Regions from separate parts of the Homo sapiens genome. Here regions 1, 2, 3, 4, 6 and 7 are each linked to region 5. Evidence: promoter capture Hi-C in 16 types of primary human blood cells and fetal thymus (Javierre and others, 2016). All regions are on one chromosome and are shown on one strand. The core of a region is centred on a gene start or on the middle of the fragment in contact, and the rest is flanking DNA. Distances in the headings are between cores, read along the strand shown.

Evidence for each region. The method cuts DNA at HindIII sites, captures the fragments that hold promoters and counts their contacts. A CHiCAGO score of 5 or more calls a contact.
Region 1: a fragment that was not itself captured here is called in contact with the fragment with the promoter of VTA1 in region 5 in 1 of 17 cell types (fetal thymus); the score reaches 6.4 in fetal thymus.
Region 2: a fragment that was not itself captured here is called in contact with the fragment with the promoter of VTA1 in region 5 in 5 of 17 cell types (non-activated CD4 T cells, fetal thymus, total CD4 T cells and 2 more); the score reaches 6.4 in non-activated CD4 T cells.
Region 3: a contact is called between a fragment that was not itself captured here and the fragment with the promoter of VTA1 in region 5, in 3 of 17 cell types (fetal thymus, activated CD4 T cells and naive CD4 T cells). The highest score is 6.8, in fetal thymus.
Region 4: a contact is called between a fragment that was not itself captured here and the fragment with the promoter of VTA1 in region 5, in 3 of 17 cell types (non-activated CD4 T cells, total B cells and monocytes). The highest score is 8.5, in non-activated CD4 T cells.
Region 6: a fragment that was not itself captured here is called in contact with the fragment with the promoter of VTA1 in region 5 in 1 of 17 cell types (monocytes); the score reaches 6.7 in monocytes.
Region 7: the fragment with the promoter of LTV1 here is called in contact with the fragment with the promoter of VTA1 in region 5 in 1 of 17 cell types (total B cells); the score reaches 5.4 in total B cells.

The regions. Positions count from the first base shown.
Region 1 is chr6:144,010,393-144,013,583 of GRCh38, forward strand. It overlaps a transcript of PLAGL1 not described here. Among named protein-coding and RNA genes, the nearest start is that of PLAGL1, 3.7 kb to the left of the region's middle. The HindIII fragment of the contact is 1,038 bases long and covers 1,350-2,387 here.
Region 2 is chr6:143,526,592-143,529,945 of GRCh38, forward strand. No RefSeq gene overlaps it. Among named protein-coding and RNA genes, the nearest start is that of FUCA2, 17 kb to the left of the region's middle. The HindIII fragment of the contact is 5,428 bases long and covers 1-3,354 here.
Region 3 is chr6:143,506,544-143,509,755 of GRCh38, forward strand. It overlaps FUCA2 (alpha-L-fucosidase 2), which reads right to left. Exons shown (of 7, transcript NM_032020.5): 2 at 694-881. It overlaps LOC124901417 (a long non-coding RNA gene), which reads left to right. Exons shown (of 2, transcript XR_007059798.1): 2 at 1-787. Among named protein-coding and RNA genes, the nearest start is that of FUCA2, 3.6 kb to the right of the region's middle. The HindIII fragment of the contact is 4,251 bases long and covers 1-3,212 here.
Region 4 is chr6:144,066,641-144,069,783 of GRCh38, forward strand. No RefSeq gene overlaps it. Among named protein-coding and RNA genes, the nearest start is that of SF3B5, 27 kb to the right of the region's middle. RefSeq lists an enhancer at 311-610. The HindIII fragment of the contact is 3,826 bases long and covers 1-3,143 here.
Region 5 is chr6:142,145,583-142,148,633 of GRCh38, forward strand. VTA1 (vesicle trafficking 1) reads left to right here and starts at 1,681. Exons shown (of 8, transcript NM_016485.5): 1 at 1,681-1,817. The coding sequence starts at 1,706. It overlaps NMBR (neuromedin B receptor), which reads right to left and starts at 1,540. Exons shown (of 4, transcript NM_002511.4): 1 at 1,462-1,540. RefSeq lists enhancers at 1,410-1,704, 1,468-1,607, 1,862-2,382. The HindIII fragment of the contact is 1,973 bases long and covers 1,110-3,051 here.
Region 6 is chr6:143,486,833-143,490,019 of GRCh38, forward strand. PEX3 (peroxisomal biogenesis factor 3) reads left to right here. Exons shown (of 12, transcript NM_003630.3): 12 at 2,311-3,187. The coding sequence ends at 2,394. Among named protein-coding and RNA genes, the nearest start is that of FUCA2, 23 kb to the right of the region's middle. The HindIII fragment of the contact is 1,433 bases long and covers 928-2,360 here.
Region 7 is chr6:143,841,339-143,844,669 of GRCh38, forward strand. LTV1 (LTV1 ribosome biogenesis factor) reads left to right here and starts at 2,000. Exons shown (of 11, transcript NM_032860.5): 1 at 2,000-2,142; 2 at 3,148-3,279. The coding sequence starts at 2,140. RefSeq lists enhancers at 1,804-1,853, 2,034-2,243, 2,434-2,503. The HindIII fragment of the contact is 13,446 bases long and covers 1-3,331 here.

The DNA of each region.
Region 1 (3,191 bases), core at 619-3,118, 1.9 Mb after region 5:
CAAGAGATGTGAAGGACCTCTTCAAGGAGAACTACAAACCACTGCTTAAGGAAATCAGAGAGGACACAAACAAATGGAAAAACATTCCATGCTCATGGATTGGAAGAATCAATTATCATGAAAATTGCCATACTGCCCAAAGTAATTTATAGATTCAATGCTATCCCCATCAAGCTACCATTGACTTTCTTCACAGAATTAGAAGAAACTACTTTAAATTTCATATGGAACCAAAAAAGAGCCCGTATAGCCAAGACAATCCTAAGCAAAAAGAACAAAGCTGGAGGCATTACACTACCTGACTTCAAACTACACTACAAGGCTACAGTAACCAAAACTGCATGGTACTGGTACCAAAACAGATATATGGACCAATGGAACAGAACAGAGTCCTCAGAAATAACACCACACATCTACAACCATCTGATCTGTGACAAACCTGACAAAAACAAGCAATAGGTAAAAGATTCCCTAGTTAATAAATGGTGTTGGGAAAAACTGGTTAGCCATATGCAGAAAACTGAAACTGGACCGCTTCGTTACACCTTATACAAAAATTAACTCAAGATGGACTAAAGACTTAAAACATCAGACCTAAAACCATAAAAAGCCTAGAAGAAAACCTAGGCAATACCATTCAGGACATAGGCATGGGCAGAGTTCATAACTAAAACACCAAAAGCAATGGCAACAAAAGCCAAAATTGACAATTGGGATCTAATTAAACTAAAGAGCTTCTGCACACCAAAAGAAACTATCATCAGACTGAACAGGCAACCTACAGAATGGGAGAAAATTTTTGCAATTATCCATCTGACAAAGGGCTAATATCCAGAATCTACAAAGCACTTAAACAAATTTATAAGAAAAAAACAACTCCATCAAAAAGTGGGCAAAGGATATGAACAGACACTTCTCAAAAGAAGACATTTATGTGGCCAACAAACATATGAAAAAAGCTCATCATTACTGGTCATTAGAGAAATGCTTCAAAGATTTCTGTGGAAAGATCTTAATCCCATGTAATTTTCCCCTTGGAGGTGGCTTGATTTTTCTGCTTGGATACCTGAAGAATTCTTTAACATTAATATACCCTTTAGTATTCTTATCTGGGCTATGCCTCTGTGTCAGTTATTCTAGATCAATTTTTCCCCCCAGCATACAGTATGATCTTCCAATTTATAGATTATGTTCTTTTCTAATGTCCCATGTATATTATATATCTGAATACGCTGCTTTTTCAGGGCTGAATGTTGTTTCTATCTACTTGTTCTGTGATCCAAGGTTTTTCGGACAAGGAGAGGTGGGGGAAAAGGGGATGTGTGGAATTCAGCTCAGACAGAGTATAAAGCTTGCTGGAGGAACTCAACCTTCACATCTGAGATTCCTTTAAGTCCTCTGGCAGCTGGACTTCAAGCTAGCCAAGGGAACATCCCATGCCTCAGAGTTTCAGTTCATTTGCTCAGTTCAGCACAGTATCCCAGAAAGTGGGAAACTTTCCTGCCTCTGGCAAGATCCAACAGTGGTATGCAAAGGTTCCTCAACATCTCACAGGTGTGCCCTGCCTTTCCACATTGGGGGACGTTTGTGAGAATTCTTAGGATTTGGTCTGATCATCTTTTTCCTCAACATGTCTTGCAGCGGTGGGTGGAGGGCTGGGCAGACATAGGTTCATCTGGAGACAAAGCACGCCTCCATAGAATCTTCTGTTCTCTTTGTTTTTGCTATCAATTCTCAAATTTTACATTATAAGGTTGTACTTTTTTCTTCTTTGGTTGCAGCATGTAAGTTTTTTGTTGCTTTCTTTCCTTTGGGTGATTTAGTGTTTTGTTTTGTTTTTGAGACAGAGTCTCGCTCTGTCACCCAAGCTGGAGTACAGTGGCATGATCTTGGCTCACCGCAACCTGCCTCCCGGGTTCAAGCAATTCTCCTGTCTCAGCCTCCTGAGTAGCTGGGATTATAGGCGTGCACCATCACAACCGGCTAATTTTTGTATTTTTAGTAGAGGCTGGTATGGGGGTGCTGGGTTGGGGGGAAGTTCGCCATGTTAGCCAGGCTGGTCTCAAACTCCTGACCTCAGGTGATCCGCCTGTCTCAGTCTCCCAAAGTGCTGGGATTACAGACGTGAGCCACCATGCCTGGATGATTTAGTATTTTAATTTTGATTTTTTTAGTGCTTCCTTGTGCCATCTTTATCCAGAAGTCAGTCAAGCAGTCTTTCTTTCTCACTGGTAATGAACTATATGAAATCCTTTTTTATCTTTAGGTTATTTCCACAGTGGTCTCTTTGAACATGACTATGTTGACCTGGTAGCTGTGACACACTCTTTTTCTCCTGAGCTTTCCCTCAATGACGCATGCTTTGGCATTACAGCATGCCCTAGCAAAGCTTCTGGAGCAGGGGTTGCAAACTCAAATCTCTACAAAGTTTAAAACAGTGAGGAACAATGGGACTGTGGTAAAGTGAAAAGGACATTCTTTGTGTAAGGGGCAGATGCTCAGCTCAGGCCAATGGCTGCCATGTTTGAACTCAGGGCAGGGTTGCCACATCTGCATAATTTTCAAGGGAAGTATGCTATCTAACATTTTAATATAAAATCTTCTAATTTTGGAAACACTGCAGAGGCCACATGAAGTATTTCTCCAGGTCAAACTGGACCCAAGGGTTGCCAGCGTGGTCACTGTAGTAGACAGAACCCCTCAGGACAAATTCCATAATCACACTTTTTCTCTAAGTATTTGGAGATTCCATTTTATTCTGCAGACTATTGAATGACTTCTTAACATTTCTTCAGCAAATGCAGAACAAGAAAATTCATGCTGACACATCTATAGGTTGATACAATGTGTCAGGACCCAACACTTTCAGGAACAGGTGTTACCAGGGGTAACAGCTATGATGGGGCTAAAATTAATACCACATGGGCAGACAATCATACAGATTATGCCCACATTAACAAAATAATGGAGGGGGAAAATGTTATTTTCAATTGATGCAAAAAGAGCATTTGACAACTACACCCCATCCTGAAAAAAATGACAACTAGGAATGGAATGGAACTTCCTTAGCCAGATAGTGGCTATATTTTATCCTATAGCTGCCATAACAAATTACCACAAACTGGTGGCATAAAACATGAAATTTATTTTCTGAGTCCGAAAGGCCAGAAGTCTGAAATCAAGATATCAGC
Region 2 (3,354 bases), core at 188-2,687, 1.4 Mb after region 5:
AGACAGAAGAAATAAGTTCTAGTGTCCTATACCATTATAGGATGACTATAGTTAACAATAACATATTATATAGTTTCAAATGGCTAGAAGGAGGATATTGAATGTTCCCAACACAAAGAAATGATAAATGTTTGGGATAAGGGATATGCTAATTACCCTGATGTGATCATATACATTATATGTATTGAAACATCGCTATGTACCCCACGAATATGCACAATTATTGTGTGTCAATTAAAAATAAAGGTATAAAAGAAAAAAAAACCCATGGCTGAGTGTAGCAGGGATGGAAGGAGTCCCTAGTGAATCACTTGCCTTCAATGAGAGAGTTAGAGTCACAGAAGCAGCAATTGCTGAGGCTAACACTCAAGATAGTCCCCTCCTGTCTTCCTACACTCATAAGCCCAAAAGTTCTTGTTTGGTTCAAGACAAGGAAGGCATCCTGGAAAATGTCTTTTAGGCAATGTTTGTAGAAGGAGCTGAGCTAGGTGTGATTTATAGAAACAAAGAAATAGAATGTGTATCCTGAATGTCTTAGAGCAGTGCTCCTACTACATGCCATTCATTACACCCAGTGCTTTATATACACGAATTTCAATCCTGAAAACACCACCACAAATTAAACGTATGCATTACTTAGGGATCAAATTGAGGTATCAAAATTGAAGCAAAAGACAGTGATGCTGATCACATTTCTTCTGTGCCTAAATCTTTTTACAGGCCTCTGTTTCACATTCCAGCACGTCCCCGCTCTCCTCCAAGCCTCCAGCCATACTCACCTCCCTCCTCTTCGCTTCCATTTTCCTGCCTTGGGCCCGCATGCATGGTATTTTCCCTGCCTGGGATGCCTTCCCTGCCTCTTCCTCTTTTTTATCCCTACTCACTTGTATAAGCCACTTCTTGTGTCCTGAAACTTTTCCTGACTCACCCCAAAAGGGTCAATTATTCCCTCCTTTATCTCTCCACTGTAGTTTGTACACCCCTGTCTCCTATGCTGCTAGTCCAAGATTAGAGAGATTCCTATTCACTTCTGTGTGCCCAGCACAGAGCCTGAGCCTGTTAGGACATAGTAGCTGTTTTAATTTATTTATGTTTTATTGTATTTTTAATTGACAAGTAATAATTGCATATATTTATAGCATACATGAAGTTTCAAGGCATGTATAGATTGTGGAATGATCAAATCAAGACAATTAGCCTATCTATTACTGCAAATATTTATCTTTTTTTGAGATGGGGTCTCACTGTGTTGCCCAGGCTGGAGTATAGTGGCTCAATCATGGCTTACTGCAGCCTCAACCTCCCTGGGCTCAGGTGATCCTCCCACCTCAGACACCAGAGTCTCTGGGAGTACAGGTGCACATCACCACACCTGGCTAATTTTTGTAGTTTTTTTGTAGTGATGGGGTTTTGCCATATTGCCCAGGCTGGTCTTGAACTCGTGGGCTTAAGCAATCTGCCTGTCTCAACCTCCCAAAACTAGGATTACGGGCGTGAGCCACTGCATCTGGCCCAAATATTTATCATTTCTTTGTTGTGAGAACACCTAAAATGCTCTCTTTTCATTATTCCACAAAATGTATATATTCCAAAATATGTATAGTCACCATGCTGTTGCGATACAGCACCAGACCTATTCCTCCTCCCGTCTGACTGACTGAAACCCTGGACCTGTTGAGTAACATCTCCTCTTTCTCCATCCACCCCATCGCACCCCAGTCTCTGATAACCACCATCCTACACTCCACTTCTATGAGTTTGTTTTAGAGTAAGAAGAAGAAAGGAAGAGTGGGAGGAAGAGAGCATGGTAAAGGAGGTGTTTACTTTTGCAGCCTGGTACTCTAGAGGGAAATGGTGGGATGGGCTCAAAACTATGAGCCAGCTTTGGCCTCTCTCATAAAATGAATTCATCTTCGATTTTAAAATGAAAACAAAGAAAAAATTTCACAGAACCATCACATTCCACACCAGAAGAGGCCTTAGAGACCATCAAAACTAACTTCCTGTTTTTTGTTTCTCTCTCTTTTTTTTAAGTGACTTTAAAAGCAGGCCTACTTTCACTATCAGATGGTGATTTATCCTCACTCTGCTGATTACCTGGATTCCTTGCCTTTCTCTTATTTCATTTTCATCGTGTATCGTCAATTTTGATCTCTGCCGTTTCTTTTCAGATAATATTTTGATCTTTCTCTTACTTGCAGTCATTTTTATCTGCCTATATTAAGGAAATGCTATTGTCAGTGAAAGACACTTAGTTCTAATGCCAAGTATTTTGGGAAAATATTTCATAAGAAAACATACCATATTTTTATGTGCATGTTTTGCATATAAACTCTGAGAAATAAAACTTTTTAATATATTTGGGGGATGGGGAAGATAGCAAAAGAAAACTGCAATTATAAAAATAATTAGTTAGAAGGGGATGGGTATTGTCTCAAGGAATGCCTTCAGGAAGTTTTGATTTTAACCAGAGTGTCACACCTGTTTCCATTACCATGAAAAATCCACATTCATGCATCTAAAGACTACTAGTGATGAAATAGGGACAAATTCAGTTACAAAGGTCGTTTAGCTCCCTAGCTTGTCTAATTTATGAAATGTGGATAGCTTTCATTATGTATTAAAGCCTTTGAATAACAATTCCTCCTTCTGTAAGTGAATCTGCAATGTATAAAGAGCCCTCCAAGTGGCACTGTGGCTTTAAGAGGGGCTCCTGGCACAGCAAGGAGGAGGAAGACACTGGCCAGAGATGAGACAGATCCCAGCCCACATTTGGGCTCCTGCTGAAGGCAGTGTTCCTAGCACTGATGGGCGGAACAAGCTAGTTGATAAATTTTCATTTATTTCTTTTATAATCTTACATAAGTCATCACTTTAAAGAGAGTGGTAAAGCAGTGAGGTACAGTTTTTTTGTTTCTGTTATTTTTTTTAATTTTATTTTTGGTATTAAACACTCTTATATGATTAAAACTATGCTTATTTCATCTTCAGTTTTTATCCCTAACCTTTTGGAAATGGTATTCAATGAAAATAGCTAAATAAACTAATAGAGTTTAGAAACATTTTGCTTTGAAAAGCTGTACTGGATGCCTCTTTTTTTAAAATCAGTGTCAAACAGGCACATTTCCTACGTGCTGGCCAACATGTCCGTGGTACCAAGGGACAAGTCTAAGGAGAAAGAAATCTTTTTTTTTTTTTTTTTTTTTTGAGACGGAGTCTCGCTCTGTCGCCCAGGCTGGAGTGCAGTGGCGCGATCTCCGCTCACTGCAAGCTCCGCCTCCCGGGTTCACGCCATTCTCCTGCCTCAGCCTCCCGAGTAGCTGGGACTACAGGCGCCCGCTACCACGCCCGGCT
Region 3 (3,212 bases), core at 126-2,625, 1.4 Mb after region 5:
ATGAACAAGCCGTTGGAACAAAAACAATTTGTTAATGCTTCCCTGGCCTTACAAATACTGGAGTGGTAATGGGTGGAATCCATTCTATTAAAATAGAATGGATTTTAAATGTGTGGGGGTTTAGATATTCTTCTACCACCTCTGATTTTTCTGGAAACCATTACAGTTCCACAATCCTTTTCCCTCCAGGTGATCTGGGTCACTTTCATCACTTTCATCACTATCAGTTCATCCACTATTTGCACCATTTGGCCAGCTAAGAGTTGGCTAAAAGTGCAGCCAGGTGTGTCGTAATGATGCAAGACTATAGCAGTATAATCCCCATGATGCATTCACAGGATGCATTACAGAGAAGGGGAAGGAAAGAGTGCAATTCCAAGATGAACTTTGACTTGCAACCCACACTCCCTTCAACAAACAGCTTTAAGTAAATCTTGGAAATATTGTTCAAAATACATGTGACAAAACGTGACCATCTTTCCTCTGTTACGTGGCGGGTATGATCCTTTCTGTATTCCTAACATCTCTCAATTTGGGTTGAATGTGCAGTCCCTAAGTCATAAGCAAGTGCCAGTCACCACTTATGGTTGCTCCGAAGAGAAAATTAGACCTTGCTTTAGTTTTTTCTTCCAAAAGAACAACTTTTCATTTCTTAACCATTGTCAGCAATTTCCATAGGCTGGATTGACTTACCTTCATGATGTTTGGAAGTTAAGACAATGTATTTGGCACCAGAGGCCTGAAAAATATCTGCCCACTGGTTGGCATTAAAAAATTTTGCTGTAAATAGTGGTCCAAAATCTTCATATTTGAAACTAGGAGGGTAATTATCTTTCATAAATTCCACATACTTCGGTATCTTTTCCTTTTGCCAATACCACCTAAGGGGAGGAAAGGAAAGAGTGCATAAACAGCACATACACACATATTTAAAAGAACTGCTCCAGCTCCCCTTACCATTTACCCCTCACACAGATAGGACCCAGATTCTCTTTCTCACTTCCCCATTAGTTTGACTTGGCTTTAAAGATAGCTTATGCAAACTAAACCCCCTCTCATTTTCCACCTATCCCCCTGTGATATCCACTCAGCTCATAAACTAGAGCATTCTAGGCAACTCAGCTACCCATTCTCTCTTTTTTTTAAGACAGGGTCTCACTCTGTCACTCAGGTTGGAATGCAGTAATGGAATCATGGTTCACTGCAACCTTGACCTCCTGTGCTCAAGCAATCCTCTCGCCTTAGCCTCCTGAGTAGCTAGGACCACAGGCACGTGCCACCACACCTGGCTATTTTTTTTTTCTTTGTAGAGATGTGGTTTCCATATGTTGCCCAGGCTGGTCTTAAACTCCTGGGCTCAAGCGATCTTCCTGCTTCAGTCTCCCGAAGTGTTAGGATTACAGGCATGAGTCACCGTGTCCAGCCCCATTCTCTTTTAATTCTTCACTTTTAAATCACAACATGTAGTATATGTCTTTACACATTGTCCCTTGTAACATAAGTGATTAGGGCTTCTAAAAGGAAGACTACATGCCTAAAACATAATATGCATCTATTATATTCAGTAGTAGAGAACACTTTGGAGGCACAGGACAGAAAGGGAGGCAAAAGTAAAATTAAAAAGATGCTGTTATTTTAATAAATGGACTCAACCTTCAACAATTACTTGCTATACGCATTCATTCTAAGCAATGGTATATTGACCCTAAACTGCGTAAGCAAGACTTCATGAGGAAAAGCACATCTACACATTTTAGATAAACACAGCAGTAACTATCCTCATGAAATAGATGCAACCCCCATTTTTGACCCACCTCCTGCTTTTTCTATCACCATTCCTTTCATATGAGTATTTCTACAGGATAAGCAAATCCATAATCAGCACTATATTTCCCAAGACGATCAGGAGACTCTGCTAAGAAGAAATAATTGAAGGGCATACTATGCGGCAGGCATGCTGTTTGCCTGCCCAAAAGTCGTATTTACGTAATTTCCCAGCTTCCACTACAGCTGCGACAGGGATGTGAGATCCATGCTGGCCAAGGGAACTTGAGGGAAAGCCAACTTTGGGGACTGTGGAAATGGTTTCCCTCCTAATGAAAAGAGACACTGGCCTTCCTGCCTTTGGGCAGGGTTGTGTGAAGTTATGGTGCCTGGCTGCCATCCTGTGACCATGAAGGGACAAGTCCCCAGGCTGAGGATGAAAGAAAGAGCCCGTGTCTTTGATTTCATCAATGAACCGACTACTCTAAATTTCCTGTTATGTGAGATAACAAGCCCCTATCATTATACCTTTTAGTTGGGTTTAAAATCCTTGAAGCATTTTTATTATTTATTTATTTATTATTGATTAATTGATTGGTTGAGACAGGGTCTTGCTCCATTACCCAGTTTGGAGTGCAGTGTCATGATCATACCACACCACAGCCTTGAACTCCTGGGCTCAAGCGATCGTCCCACCTCACCCTCCTGAGTATCTGGGACTACGGGCATTACATTTTAAATTGAACTGCAAAAGAGAAACTGGGACATTCAGAAAGTTGAACAAGAATAAGGAATTTCTCCTAGCATCATCTAATTTGAACCTGCACTGTCCCCTACAGTCTAGACTTGAATTTCATGCTGAGAGATGAAAAGAGGCATTTATGGTAAAGGTCTATCATTTATATTTGGTTTTTAATAGACATTTAAAACAGTCACATATACTCATCTATACTGTTGATTCCCCGAAAGTCAAATTGAGAGTGAGGAGCAGAGGATACAAAGGGAAATCACAGGTAATTAAAGAATCTTCCACAGGGTTAATGCATTTTCAGATCATCAGGAATCTGTTCTCTATTTTGTTTAGTATGAGAAGTATCTTTATTATTCTAGGTCAAAATAACCATGGGTTTATCTGTAGAAAATGAAGTTATTCATAGCAAAGAATAAAATGACTCAAAACTAGCTGTTTTATTTTGGCATAGTACTAGTCTCAGTCAAAAATGTCAAATCCTCTTTGGCACCAATATATCTTTACCTAATCTTCATGGTTGAACAAAATGATAATATAAGATACAATTTAGGGGGAAGAAAGTTGTTAATTATGTACCACACTAATCTAAAATATTTCCAAAACAAGCTCAAGATTCCTTACAGCCCAAAACATGCAAATAAAGATTTGTAACATCTTTTTGAAGTAGCTATGTTTTGGCATAAGAATAAAGAGTCTC
Region 4 (3,143 bases), core at 392-2,891, 1.9 Mb after region 5:
AAGGAGAGTGGAAGCAGGAAAGGACAGAGAAGAATAAAAGGATCATAGGAATAAGGAGAAGGAGAATGAGACACATCCTTTCCGTTGCCTCTTCAGAGAGAAAGATTTTATATCTGTCAGAAACATGAATAAAACTACAAAAGTGCATTAAATTTTCTAACTAAATTGTGAAATAGTTTGTTATTGTATTACTGTAAAAGCAACAATATTTTGTTAAGACAGAAAATAAACCTTGCACCCATGCACACTCCCACCCCACAACATGTGAGTCCAGCTGTGGCTCGGATGGGGTAGGCAGATGGGAGATTGCACATTTAGATAAAGAAGGCAAGTTCACTACTTCTCCTTCAGGCAGGTAGTGAACTTTCATGCAGGAATTGAACTTTCAAAGACTTTCAAAAACAAATTCAATAAAGGAAGTGAGAGAGGGAGGATACATACAACTTTCAAGGAATAGATGGTTTTTCCAAAGTTTAGAGGAGGGAAGGAAATCGCTCTAATGAAAGGAATAACAGCTACCATTCTAGTGCTTATTCAGGCAAGCTGACACCAGAGCCCATGTTCTTTTGCCCATGCTATTGGGCACTTCACAGCAGAACAGGTTTAGACCAACTGATCTAGAAATGGCAGGCTGGAGAACAGAAAGTGAGAGCGAGGAGGGAGGAGGGACTCACATTACTTTTTTTCTTCTTCTTTTTCTTTTTTTGAGTAAGAGTTTCACTCTTGTTACCCAGGCTGGAGTGCGATGGCGCCATCTCGACTCACTGCAACCTCCACCTCCCAGGTTCAAGTGATTCTCCTGCCTCAGCCTCCTGAGTAGCTGGGATTACAGGCACCTGACACCACACCCAACAATTTTTTTTTTTTTTTTTTTTGTGAGACGGAGTCTTGCTCCATCACTCAGGCTGGAGTTTGGTGGCGCAATCTCAGCTCACTGCAACCTCTGTCTCTCGGGTTCAAGCGATTCTCCTGCCTCAGCCTCCTGAGTAGCTGGGATTACAGGCACATGCCACCATGCCCAGCTAATTTTTGTATTTTTAGTAGAGACGGGGTTTCACCATGTTGGCCAGGCTGGTCTTGAACACCTAACCTCAGGTGATCTGCCCACCTCGGCCACCTAAAGTGCTTGGATTACAGTCATGAGCCACCACGTTTGGTCTGTGGGTGCTTTCTTAAAAGACCTACAGAAGATGTGAGGCCCTTGAGCTTGAAGATTAAAGCAGTCATTCCCCAATCCCAGACTGAGAGTACAGCCTTCCTTAGTTGTATACCTAGTCACAACATCCCTCATTTGCAGATGTCACTAGCGCATCCAGCAGTCCTTAACTTTCAAGTACAAGATCTTTGGTTATATACCATCAGTACAGCTGTGCACTGTTTATTAATACACACCGCACCCCCTGCCCCATAACCTGCAACTACCTTTCATACACCAAATTCCATTTTGGGTCATGATCTAAGAGATGACACCAACCATTGAGTGATGGGTGTTGCTGTTAGCCACTCATCAAAAGAAGCACAGACGCCGGGGGCTTGTGGTCCCAGCGCCCACCACCCCATGCCAAAGAACCATGTTCTTGGACCTCTGCCTCCACACAGACGGCACTCATGAAGGAGGCTCAGGGGTCATGTCCCAGTGCCTAGAACCTGCTCTCCTGGGTTGGGGAATGGGGTTAGTTCCAGCAGACACAGCCTCAATTCTTTGGTGAAATAATACAATCAAATCCTCTGTAGGTACAGAAGATGAAGATCCTCACCCCCTACCCTGTTCCAACTAAACAACGGCATGATGTTGGTAGTTGGGTTTAATCGACCCAGGTGCCTGGGACATGGGTGGCCTGACCCCAGCAGCCATCTCCCTGCCTTGGGTTCCAGAGTGAGGGCTGACAGGCTAGAACTCTCACTGGCAGCCCTGGCCGCTCAAGCCTGAGGGAGCCAGGACCTACAGAGACCATCATGAGAAATTTTCTAATCAAAATTTTTTTCTAGTAATGAGAAATATTTCTAACATCTACAGGTTTTGTTGTTTTTTTCTTTTTCTATTTTTTTTTTTGTTTTGTTTTTTGCCTTTAAACACATTTCCAGGAACTCATTAGTTACCAATGTAAGGGACCACCTTAATGAATAAATTACTCCAAGGATATAGAATTCCCTTTTGTTGCCACAGCCTCTTATTCTGCCCACCTTGTCTTGCTTCCTATTTTAAAAAATGTCTTTGTGACCTTTAATCCCTAGAACCTCTTCCTACTTTCTTAGTTCATTACCTCCATTCTGACTTCCCTTACCTCTCCACTCACTATAGGTCAGTTTTTGTTGCTGTGGTTTTGTGTGTACGTGTGTGCACTTATTTCCTTACCGCCATAAGCATGACTCTTCATTTCCTTGACTTCTCTCCATTTCCAGTCAGAAATCTCCCCTCATTCACTTGTTTTGTTACTTTCTCAAATTGTTACGTGCTACTGGGACATCAAAAGAGTATGTTGATTGGATCTACTCTGAATATAATTTCAGAAGAGCACATACAGCTTTTTAGCATCTTTTTCATCATCTCTTGTGTTAGTCCATTTTCATACTGCTATGAAGAAATACCCAAGACTGGGTAATTTCTAAAGAAAAAGAGGTTTAGGCCAGGTGCGGTGGCTCAAGCCTGTAATCCCAGCACTTTGCGAGGCCAAGGCCGTCAGATCACCTGAGGCCAGGGGTTCAAGACCAGCCTGGCCAACATGGTGAAACCCCGTCTCTACTAAAAGTACAAAAATTAATTGGGTGTGGTGGCAGGTGCCTGTAATCCCAGCCACTCGGGAGGCTGAGGTAGGAGAATTGCTTGAACTCAGGAGATGGAGGTTGCAGTGAGCCAAGATTGTGCCATTGCACTCCAGCCTGGGCGACTGAGCGAGACTCTGTCTCAAAAAAAAAACAAAGAAAGAAAAAGAAGTTTAATGGACTCACAGCTCCACGTGGCTGGAAAGGCCTCACAATCATGGTGGGAGGCAAAGGAGGAGAAAAGTCATGTCTTACATGGTGGCAGACAAGAGAAAGTGTGCAGGGAAACTGCCCTTTATAAAGCCATCTGATCTTGTGAGACTTATTCACTATCATGAGAACAGCTGGGAAAAACCTGCCCCTATGATTCAATTACCTCC
Region 5 (3,051 bases), core at 431-2,930:
TCAGCAAATGCTGCTAGCTAGTTATTATTACTTTAAGTTGTGGTAGAGGCAAGGCAAAATAATTCATATCTGGTGGTGGCCTTAATCTCAATAGCAGGAAATGCTGTTGTAGACCAAGGAAATTGGGGCTGAGTGCCTAGCTTGAATAGAGCGAGAGAAGTTTGAAACACCATCTGTGGACTACAGCACTGGTCCTTAACCCTAGACGTAACATTAAAATTACATGAGGACCTTTTAAAGATACTGACATTTAGGATCCCACCTAGAACAATTAAGTGAGAATGCCTGGAGTGGGCTTTAAAGTTGATCTTTAAGGGCAGCTGCGGTTGAGAATCAAGAAGTAATAGGAAACAAATAAATGAAAAGTTGTGAGTATAGAAAGAAAACAGTTATGGTTATCCAACTCTGCTTTTCTTCATTGATTTCTCTACCAATCTAGCAACTTTTGACTGGAAAGTCCAAATAGTGGGAGTAAGAGAAAGAGAAAGAAACCATACATTCTCCAGTGGTAGGAAATATGCCGCTGAGATTGGGGAAGAAGACAGAACTGAGTTTCAGGCTGAGTAAAAAAGCCCGACCCAGAATAAGATGATGGACTTTGCAAATAGGTCTAGGCAACGTATGTGGAGTGGGATAATATGAGGACATGGAGCGGTTTCTTCTGGGGGTGAGAGAGTGATCAGAAAATAGTAGGCAGAGGGGAATTTCCGAGCTGGAGATTTTGGCTCTTGGGGATAGTGTGATTTCAGTGAAAACTAGTTTTAAGATGAATTGTCAAAACTGAGGACTGAGATAAAATAAAGAAGGTTATTGGAGGAAGTAAATAAAGTGTACAGTCCTGAAAGATATAAGTAAGGGATGGAGAGGAGAGGAAGAGAATTGAAGTCATTGAGGGTAGAAGGAAAAGTGATGCCTACTGTACAATGGTTAAGAGTTACCAGCGTTGAAAACGTCCCAAACACCCTATCTTACATTAAGACAAGATAATAAATATGAAAATACTTTACAAATTGTTAATCACTCTCCAGAAAAAAAAAAGGTGATCTACAGATTATTCATTCACTAAAATACGTACTAGCCAGCTGAGAACAAAAGTTCAATCTTCTTTAAGCTTCATATGTTTAGCTTAATTTGGCGCGAAATCTGATTATTTTATCCAGTATGTCAACATAGAAAAATTTAATTTACAATTTAAACACATTATTTCTCTCTCATGCAAGTATTGAAATTAAAGTTTCTAAAATCAAAAAGGCTTCTAAAGGACACTGCTATATGGAATATTAATGTGGCATATTAACTGGAAGTGGTAATTCCTGAATGACGCCAAAGGCAATTCTCGCCTTTATACTTTCTCCCAGTCAACATACATTATTTTCTTGTTTTTCCTTTTCTATCCTTCCTTTTGCCACAAACAACAAACCAAACAAAAAAGCAAAACAAAACAAAAACCCTTCCTCCTACCAGCAGAGAGCGCTAGCGCCATGCGCGGCATAAGCGCCAAAATGCTCGGGTCTTCTGTGGGTTCTAACCGCCGAGAGCCAAGCACCCTGAGGTTGTCCCAGCTGGGGATCCGTAGTTGACTTGACGTCGCTGAGCAACGGAAGAGTGGGCAGCATTTGCTCTGAACGCTCGTGCGCGCTACCGCCCAGACGGAAGCGGAAGTGCCGGTGGAGCGCGAGTAGGAAGTGGTGAGTTCGGAGTAGAGATGGCCGCGCTTGCACCGCTGCCCCCGCTCCCCGCACAGTTCAAGAGCATACAGCATCATCTGAGGACGGCTCAGGAGCATGACAAGCGAGACCCTGTGGTGGCTTATTACTGTGAGTCTTTCCGAGTGGCCGCGCCCTTTCTTTCCCAGTTGCATTTTAGGGCCCACACACCTCCCTGAGGTTCTTGGGGCATGCCCCGCCCCCCTCGCTTTAAACCTGAGCTTTGACCTCGAGCCTACCCAGGGAACTCCCTGGGTTCCCACCCCCTGGCAGTAGGAATCCCAAAACACCATGGTGTCCACTGCTTCTCCTATCTTGTGCTTAAATGCTCCAGTACTGACTACACAGGCTCTTGAACTGTGGAATATAATCTTCCAAGGTTTTCTCTGTGTGTGTACACACAAGAGCTTCTTGTCTCAAATAGGAATCCTGAAAATAAATTGAGTTAGGTTTAAAACGAAGGTGAGTGTCCGAAAGAAGGAGTGATGTGGATAAAAGGACGATAGACTAGTTGAAAACATAGTAATAAGTGAATATTATTTATGACAGCATGCAAGCCCAATCAGAAACTCATTTGGTTAAATGGGGAGTATCTGCTACTAAATAAGCAGTTGAATTTGACCTTTCCCCACCCAGCTGCTCTCTCCTACCATGCAGAATTTTTAGTTTTGACTTCTTTGAATAATACCCGCTGTTGAGACCTTTGAAAGCAGTATTTTCACTTTGAGTGTTATACGTTGAATTTACAGTTTGATTAAAAAAAATATAGGTTAACTCTGCTCAAACTTGTAGTGAGTAAAGGGAGTGCCAGTAATTCTGTGTTAACTTTATTTTGTATTCTGTACTCTTAACTTTACTGCAAATAAAACAAGTAACTGGACAATTATAATTCTGAAAAGGATATTTAGAGTTGAGAAGTTGGATATAATGCGTCCATTGTTGTGTATATTGTAAGGTTAGCTAAAATCTGGTCACTGTTATCTCTGCCATACTCCAAATGTACCCTGTTTCTCAAATGTGCAAGGCCTTTTCAGACCTACCATCTTCCACTCTCTTGGAATGTGCACCTTTTTCTTGCACTTGGCAAACTCATGATTCAAGATCTAACCCAAATGTCACCACTTCTGTGGGCAGCAAATTGATTATTCTCTGTGCATTACTTCATTTTGTTCAAATTTTACAGCATCATTTTTATTATACTTGTTCTTCAGTTTCCTCAAGCAGGGTCCATATTCATTCAGTATGTGTTCATTGAGCTACCTTTGTATCAAGCATTAGTAGGCGCTGTGACTACATTTGCTGCATTTTTGGAGCTTACATACAATGGAGGTAGAGAGTTTCAACA
Region 6 (3,187 bases), core at 394-2,893, 1.3 Mb after region 5:
CATACTTTAGGCTTAATGCAACATACATTCTCTACAGAAACTATTCAACTCTGCTCTGGCAGTGTGAAAGCAGTCAGAAACGTACATGAACAAAAGAGTATGGCTGTTTCAACAAAACTTTATATACAAAAACAGGCGGCAGTGGATTTGGCCTGCAGGCCATACTTTGCTGACCCCTTTGGTAGAAGATATTAGGATGGTAGTTGGTAAAGGTAGGAAATGGGAGAATCAGAAAACAATCGAGAAAGGTGGTTTTTCAAATTATTTTCAAATAGCTTTCAAATAACATAAGCAGGAGATAAATTATTTCAGATTGCTTTCAGATAACATAAGGAAAGAGCTTTTATAGTGTGAACCAACCCTATGATACATAATTTTTATCTCAGACTACTGAAACATCCTAGAAGCTGCATCAGGATACAGTATTTGAACAGATTAAAGTCTTTATTATAAAGCTGATATAAGTTAGCTATGACCTATGAGCCAAATCCAGCCAAGCACCAGCTTTTGTAAGTTTTATTGGGTGACAGCATGCCCATTGGTTTATGTGTTGTTTATGGCTGCTTTTGCACTACAATGGTAGTATTTCTCAGATTTGTCCATACACCTCACATACATATGTACACACATATACCACAGTCCTCCAGTGTTTAAATCATTTTTAGTGTATAAATTAAAAACTCAATAAGATCCTTAAGATTAGAGCTTTTTCGTAACTCAAAACCAAAGCACTTTTATTGTCAAGTAGAATCTAAATTACAAAAAAAGATTGTTCTATAATATGGCTGACGTCTACTATTAATAATTTGTTGTGCCAAAGTGAATGTGGACCTGTCTGCTACTGTTCATGCTGTTGAGCATTCAGCCTGCATTTTCTGAAGCTGACTTGCTAGTATTTTTTTTTTTATCTACTGTAACTATTCTGAAAGCTTCATTTGTATCATGTGTTTTACATGATTTGGTCTTCATTTGAAAGATTTTCTGCCTCTGTTCTTCTCTCATTAGCACAAGACAGTTAAAGTAATGTTACTTAAAGCCAATAAGAACATAAATATAAACAAATGCCCTAAAATCAGGAACAATAGTAGGTTATATATTTTATCTTCTCAATAATCAAGAGCGTGTTTGAGTTTTCTTTACATTTTCATAGAAATCAAAACACAAAATTTCCCCTCAAATTCTTGGGCCCCTGAAAGTATGTCTGTAAATTCTGGTTTGAGAAACATTGATCTAAACCTATGTTTCATTGAACACCTAGACTGAATACTTGAAACTAAATAACATCAAATTCTCTGATGAGATAATTTAACCATGAATTGATTGAGATTAGGACATGTCTAAACCTCACTTGGATTTTCCGATACTTAAGAAACAGAGATCACTAGGGACAGGTTTACTTCCCATTTCTTTGACACTCTCAGAGGCTGTCAACCTTTTCTATCATGGACCCTTTCACAGACTGGTGAAGCCTATGGACCCCTTCTCAGAACAATATTTATAAGTGCATACAATAAAATACATAATATTATAAAGGAAACCAATCATATATAGTTTTCAAAATTTCTTTTAAAATTAAGTGTATGATATAGCGGTATTGCTTCTTTATTCATGCATTAAATACCAAGATATAATGAGAGTTCTGATAACTTCCACAACTGTCATATGACATGAAAATGCCTATGATTTCTATTGAAGACAAAGTCATACAACCTGCTAATATTATCACAGTTTGTTGCCTACATTCATAATTGAAAGAGATACCAGATTTTGGTTAGAAGTTAAAGAAAATGAAGGTGTAATTTTTTTCTTATCTTCACATTCGCAAATCCCTTGGGGTGTTAATAACCCTTACACTATAGTGTATATGTGTGGTTCATGTATGTGTGTATATGTAAAATATGCACTTACTACACATATTCATACCGTATGTTAGATCTTCTAGAAAGTAATACACCCTTAACCGTGTTATGTCAGCTTCCAGCAAAAGTACCTTTACTCCTACAATTATTTATTCAACAGATACCTATCTAGCACTTGACATACACCAAAATTCATTTGAAGACTATTTGGGGTTTTTGTCCCTCAAAGTCACACTTGAACGCTTATGATACCATCATCCCTCATATAAGAACCTAAATAATAACTATCTCCTAGAATTTATTACAAGAAAAACTACTCATTTTCTTAAATGGTTTGCCTCTTGGCCTTTACCACAAAACTTAGAGCTGAATTCATCGCTTGATTGCAGAAATTAATTCAAATTAGCTATATGTTTTGCAAACTATAATGTTATATTATCATCTTTGCTAGGATCTGTTGACAATGGAGCAAGTGAAAGACTTTGCTGCTAATGTGTATGAAGCTTTTAGTACCCCTCAGCAACTGGAGAAATGATTTTTCCTTCAAGAAAAACTACAGTGGGATTCATTTACTTTTTAAAATACACTGGGTAAATCACCTATACTTAGAGTAACAGTTTGTTATCAAAATGCCTGATAAAATATATTCTTAATAAAAGTCTTCATTTCATAATGAAATCAATTTATTTGGCATCTTAATATATTTTTTTAGATTCATCAACAGACCAGTTTTTGTGGGCATATATATATACACGTGCAAATATCAGAATTGTTAATAATTTGTTACACATGGACATTTGTTCCAAACTGACTAAAAATCAATATAGATATTTTATATACATATATATATATAAAAATACAAAATTCAGTGTACTTTACCATATTAATACTGAGGAAAAATCTGTTGGAGACATAGGTCTAGGATGTGTGAAGTTTGGAAAAATATGCTATTTAATTATAATGTTCCCTAGACTGCTGTAAACAGAAGTGAATCAGACTTTTCTCCAGCTACCTTTCAAAATAATAAATTATTTGTCTCAAATATACCTTGATGGAGGACTTTTTTATTCTTATGGAAATAGTGAATTCCAACAACTATGATGAACTATGTTCTTTGCTATTTCTTCACTATATTTTTTAAGGTTTTATTAAAAAGCCTTAGAAAGTTACATATTGGTTTAGAGGCTAAAATTGTGTTGATGCTGTTTACTCACCTAATTACATAGTTTTAATCATTTGTACATAATTTTAAAAACTTACTTTGTATTGATTTTGAATACAGTGAAAATCTTATTGCAATAAACTATTTTAGTAAAATATTATTTTGT
Region 7 (3,331 bases), core at 750-3,249, 1.7 Mb after region 5:
AGGGTGGCAGAATATACATATTTAATAAGCTATAGGAGGAATCATGAATATTTATGAAAGGAGAAACATGTACATGTGCAATTGAGCTTCATTGCCCCTTCATGGGTCCTAGGTACAAACAATGGGGCATCAGCATGATCTGAAGAGTTTTCAGCCTCTGATGTCAAAAGGTGAAGTAGAGGCCAATAAAACCCTTACTGTGCCTGCTCCGTAGATTGGCCAGAACCATTCCATAGTGGGTAGTCTGTTACGCACAAAACGGAGGGCAGCAACAGGCTGATATCAGTGGTGGAGTCTTTTGAAAGGGATGGTTTCTATTTATCCCTTAGGGAAGAAAGCCTGATCCTGGTTAGTGAGGGAGGGGATATAACAAGGCAAAGCAAGAACTCAGTTTTCAAGGTTACTCTGGGTCCCCTTGGCCAAAAGGGAGTCCGTTCAGTCAGCTGGGGGGCTTAGTACTTAGTTTGTATTTCTCTTGCCTCATTTTTAGGATTTGTAAGATGCTGAAGATAATTGCGTCTCTTTCATAGTGTTGCAGTGAGGATGAAATGAGATGATTCAGATAAAGTGCCAGAACATTAATTCATTTAAATAAATACTTACTGAGCATATATGCCCCATGCATCAGGCCCCTGATGATACAGCAGTAAGTACAACTGATTGAAAGGAAATGAAAACTGCCCCCTTGGATCTTTTAATTCTATATAATGAATAATAACAACGAATCTCTGGCACATAGGAGTGCTATGTATTATCTCTGTTACAAAGCAATATCCTAAGACAAGTTTTATGGTCCTAACCTAAATTATTTCTATATATATATATTTTTGAGACAGAGTTTCGCTCTTGTCGCCCAGGCTGGAGTGCAATGGCATGATCTCAGCTCACTGCAACCTCTGCCTCCCGGGTTCAAGCTATTCTCCTGCCTCAACCTCCCAAGTAGTTGGGATTACAGGCACCTGCCATCACACCTGGCTAAGTTTTGTATTTTTAGTAGAGACGGGGTTTCACCACGTTGGCTAGTCTGGTCTTGAACTCCTGACCTCAGGTGATCCACCCGCTTCGGCCTCCCAAAGTGCTGGGATGACAGACATGAGCCACCGCGCCTGGCCTATTTCTATAATTTTTACTGTAATAAAAGAATAATACTCCACAAATACTTACAGTGATAATGCCTACGGCATAAAGACACAATCCAGGGTAAGCCATTCATTGAGAGGTCACCAGAAACTGGGAAGTTGGGGAAACAAATTTGAAAAAAAGGTCTGCTGATGAAAGTGACTGCATTTACCACACACTTTCGTCCAAGAAAAGCTATGTGAGTACGCCAACGCCGGCCTGAAATCTTCCTAAGAATGCGTGCTTATAGCCTATTTGTTTAAACAGGGGGAGAAAGTTAACATTCAAACACCAGAGATTCTGAATATATTTTATTAGTTCAAATGCCTCTACAGTTAACAGAGTCTCGGGGGTTTGGTTAACAGGGCAGATGAAAGCAGTTCATGAAACAGTGGAAAATATAACCTGATCAAGTCTGATGCAGTCTATAAAGGCAAGGCCCCAGCCTCCGTTGCTACGGCAACCGACTCCGCCCCCACCCGGAGAGGGAACCTGAAACTTGGCGACCCCAGCACCCCAGCGGGGTGGTCGCCTCCCTTCCGTGTCCGCGGCTTTGTTTTTTATGGTTGGGAATAGGTAAGGGACACAAGTCAAGGGGGATGCTAGATTCGTCCCCTCTGGTCTCCGTAGAGGGAGCTATAAAAGGTTCGTCCACAAGCAGAAACCCCTCTGTGGCGCCTCAACGTTAAGGACCCCCACGATTCCCTTTGCCCGGCGGGAGACTAAAGGCCGGAAAAGTACAGCCCGCCCAGGGGTGGGAGCCGAGCTAGCCCCACCTCCCGGTGGCTTCTCGCGATCGTGGAGACGCAGCGAGCCTATGTAACTTCCGGTCGCGACCCATCAGCTCCTCGGCGATTGGTCCGTTTCCACGGCCGGCTGGGTGACGTTATCGCCGGGTCCTGGGGCTGCACGTGTGGTGAGGCCTACAGAAGCGGCCTTCAGCTGGACCTTGGTCTCCCCGCCGGACTTCGAGGGTGTCATCGCCGCCCCTGTTGGGGGTGAGCGCCGCGCGGCTGCAGCATGGTGAGCAAGCCTTGCTTGTTTCGGCGGCCGAGCGCTGTGGTTTTGCAGAGGCCAGGCTGCTTCCGGTAATACCTTGGCTACTGCGGCCCGGGTCTGGGTCATGCCAGAGGCTGCTTGCGGCACGGTACCCCGAAATGGGCCAACGTCACCACCGTGGGCATTCTTTGCAAGTTACAGTCTCCCACCGCCGAGCCTCCCTGGGATGTGGCCCGGAGAGGAGAATGGCCTTTTTGTTTTATCCCTGGGAGCCTGCAGCCCTGCGTGATTTCGGTTAACTAAAAGCTGGTGACTGCCGACACAAACGCGCAACCCTGTGCTTCTTGGGGTCGAGCAGAGGGAGCTGCTGGTCTCCCTCAGCGTTGGAGTGGCAGGTGTCTGCCTGTCTGTTTCCTCTGAGAAAGGGAACTTGTGGGAGAGCATAAGGTTGGGCCCAAAGTAAAGCCACTTAATTGGTTTCCCAGTTTAGAGAATCAAAATTGAATAGCGAAGTAAGAATGTAGAAAGAGGTGATGGATCTTATTAAACTTTAGCTGTTTGTGTCGTGATTTTATTTACTGGTTGGTAGATGCTCTGTGTGGAGCTGTCTACTCCAGATTATGTTGTGGCAGGCTTCTTGTCATTCTAGTTCAGTCGGCCAGGGGCCTTCCCTGAGCAGCCAGTGTAAAGTAGCTTTTAAGGCATTTTCACGTCACTGTCTTATATTTTCTTCACCGGAAATTATCTTGATTTTCTTGCTAAGAACAGGGACTTTATCTGACTTTCCCACTTCTGTATTCTCAGTTCCCATAACAAGGTCTGGCACAAAGTAGGTGCTCAAGGAATGTTTGTTGAAGGAAGGTTAAGTATGGATTCTGCAGAACACAGCTGATGTTGCCTGCCCTAGAAGTGTAGATTTTTAAAAAGTATCTTTAACATGACTACTAAAGATGCATGTGTGGACTATGGAATTATTCTCCGTCTTTTTGTTCTGTTTTAATTAATTGTTGTGATTTTGTTCCTTTGAAGCCTCACAGGAAGAAAAAGCCCTTTATAGAGAAGAAGAAAGCTGTGTCTTTTCACTTGGTCCACCGGAGCCAACGAGATCCTTTAGCAGCAGATGAGAGTGCACCCCAGAGGGTTCTATTGCCCACACAAAAAGTAGGTCCTGTTCTTTAGCCAGTCAGTTTGTAGGTAGACAATAGTTTTTTTT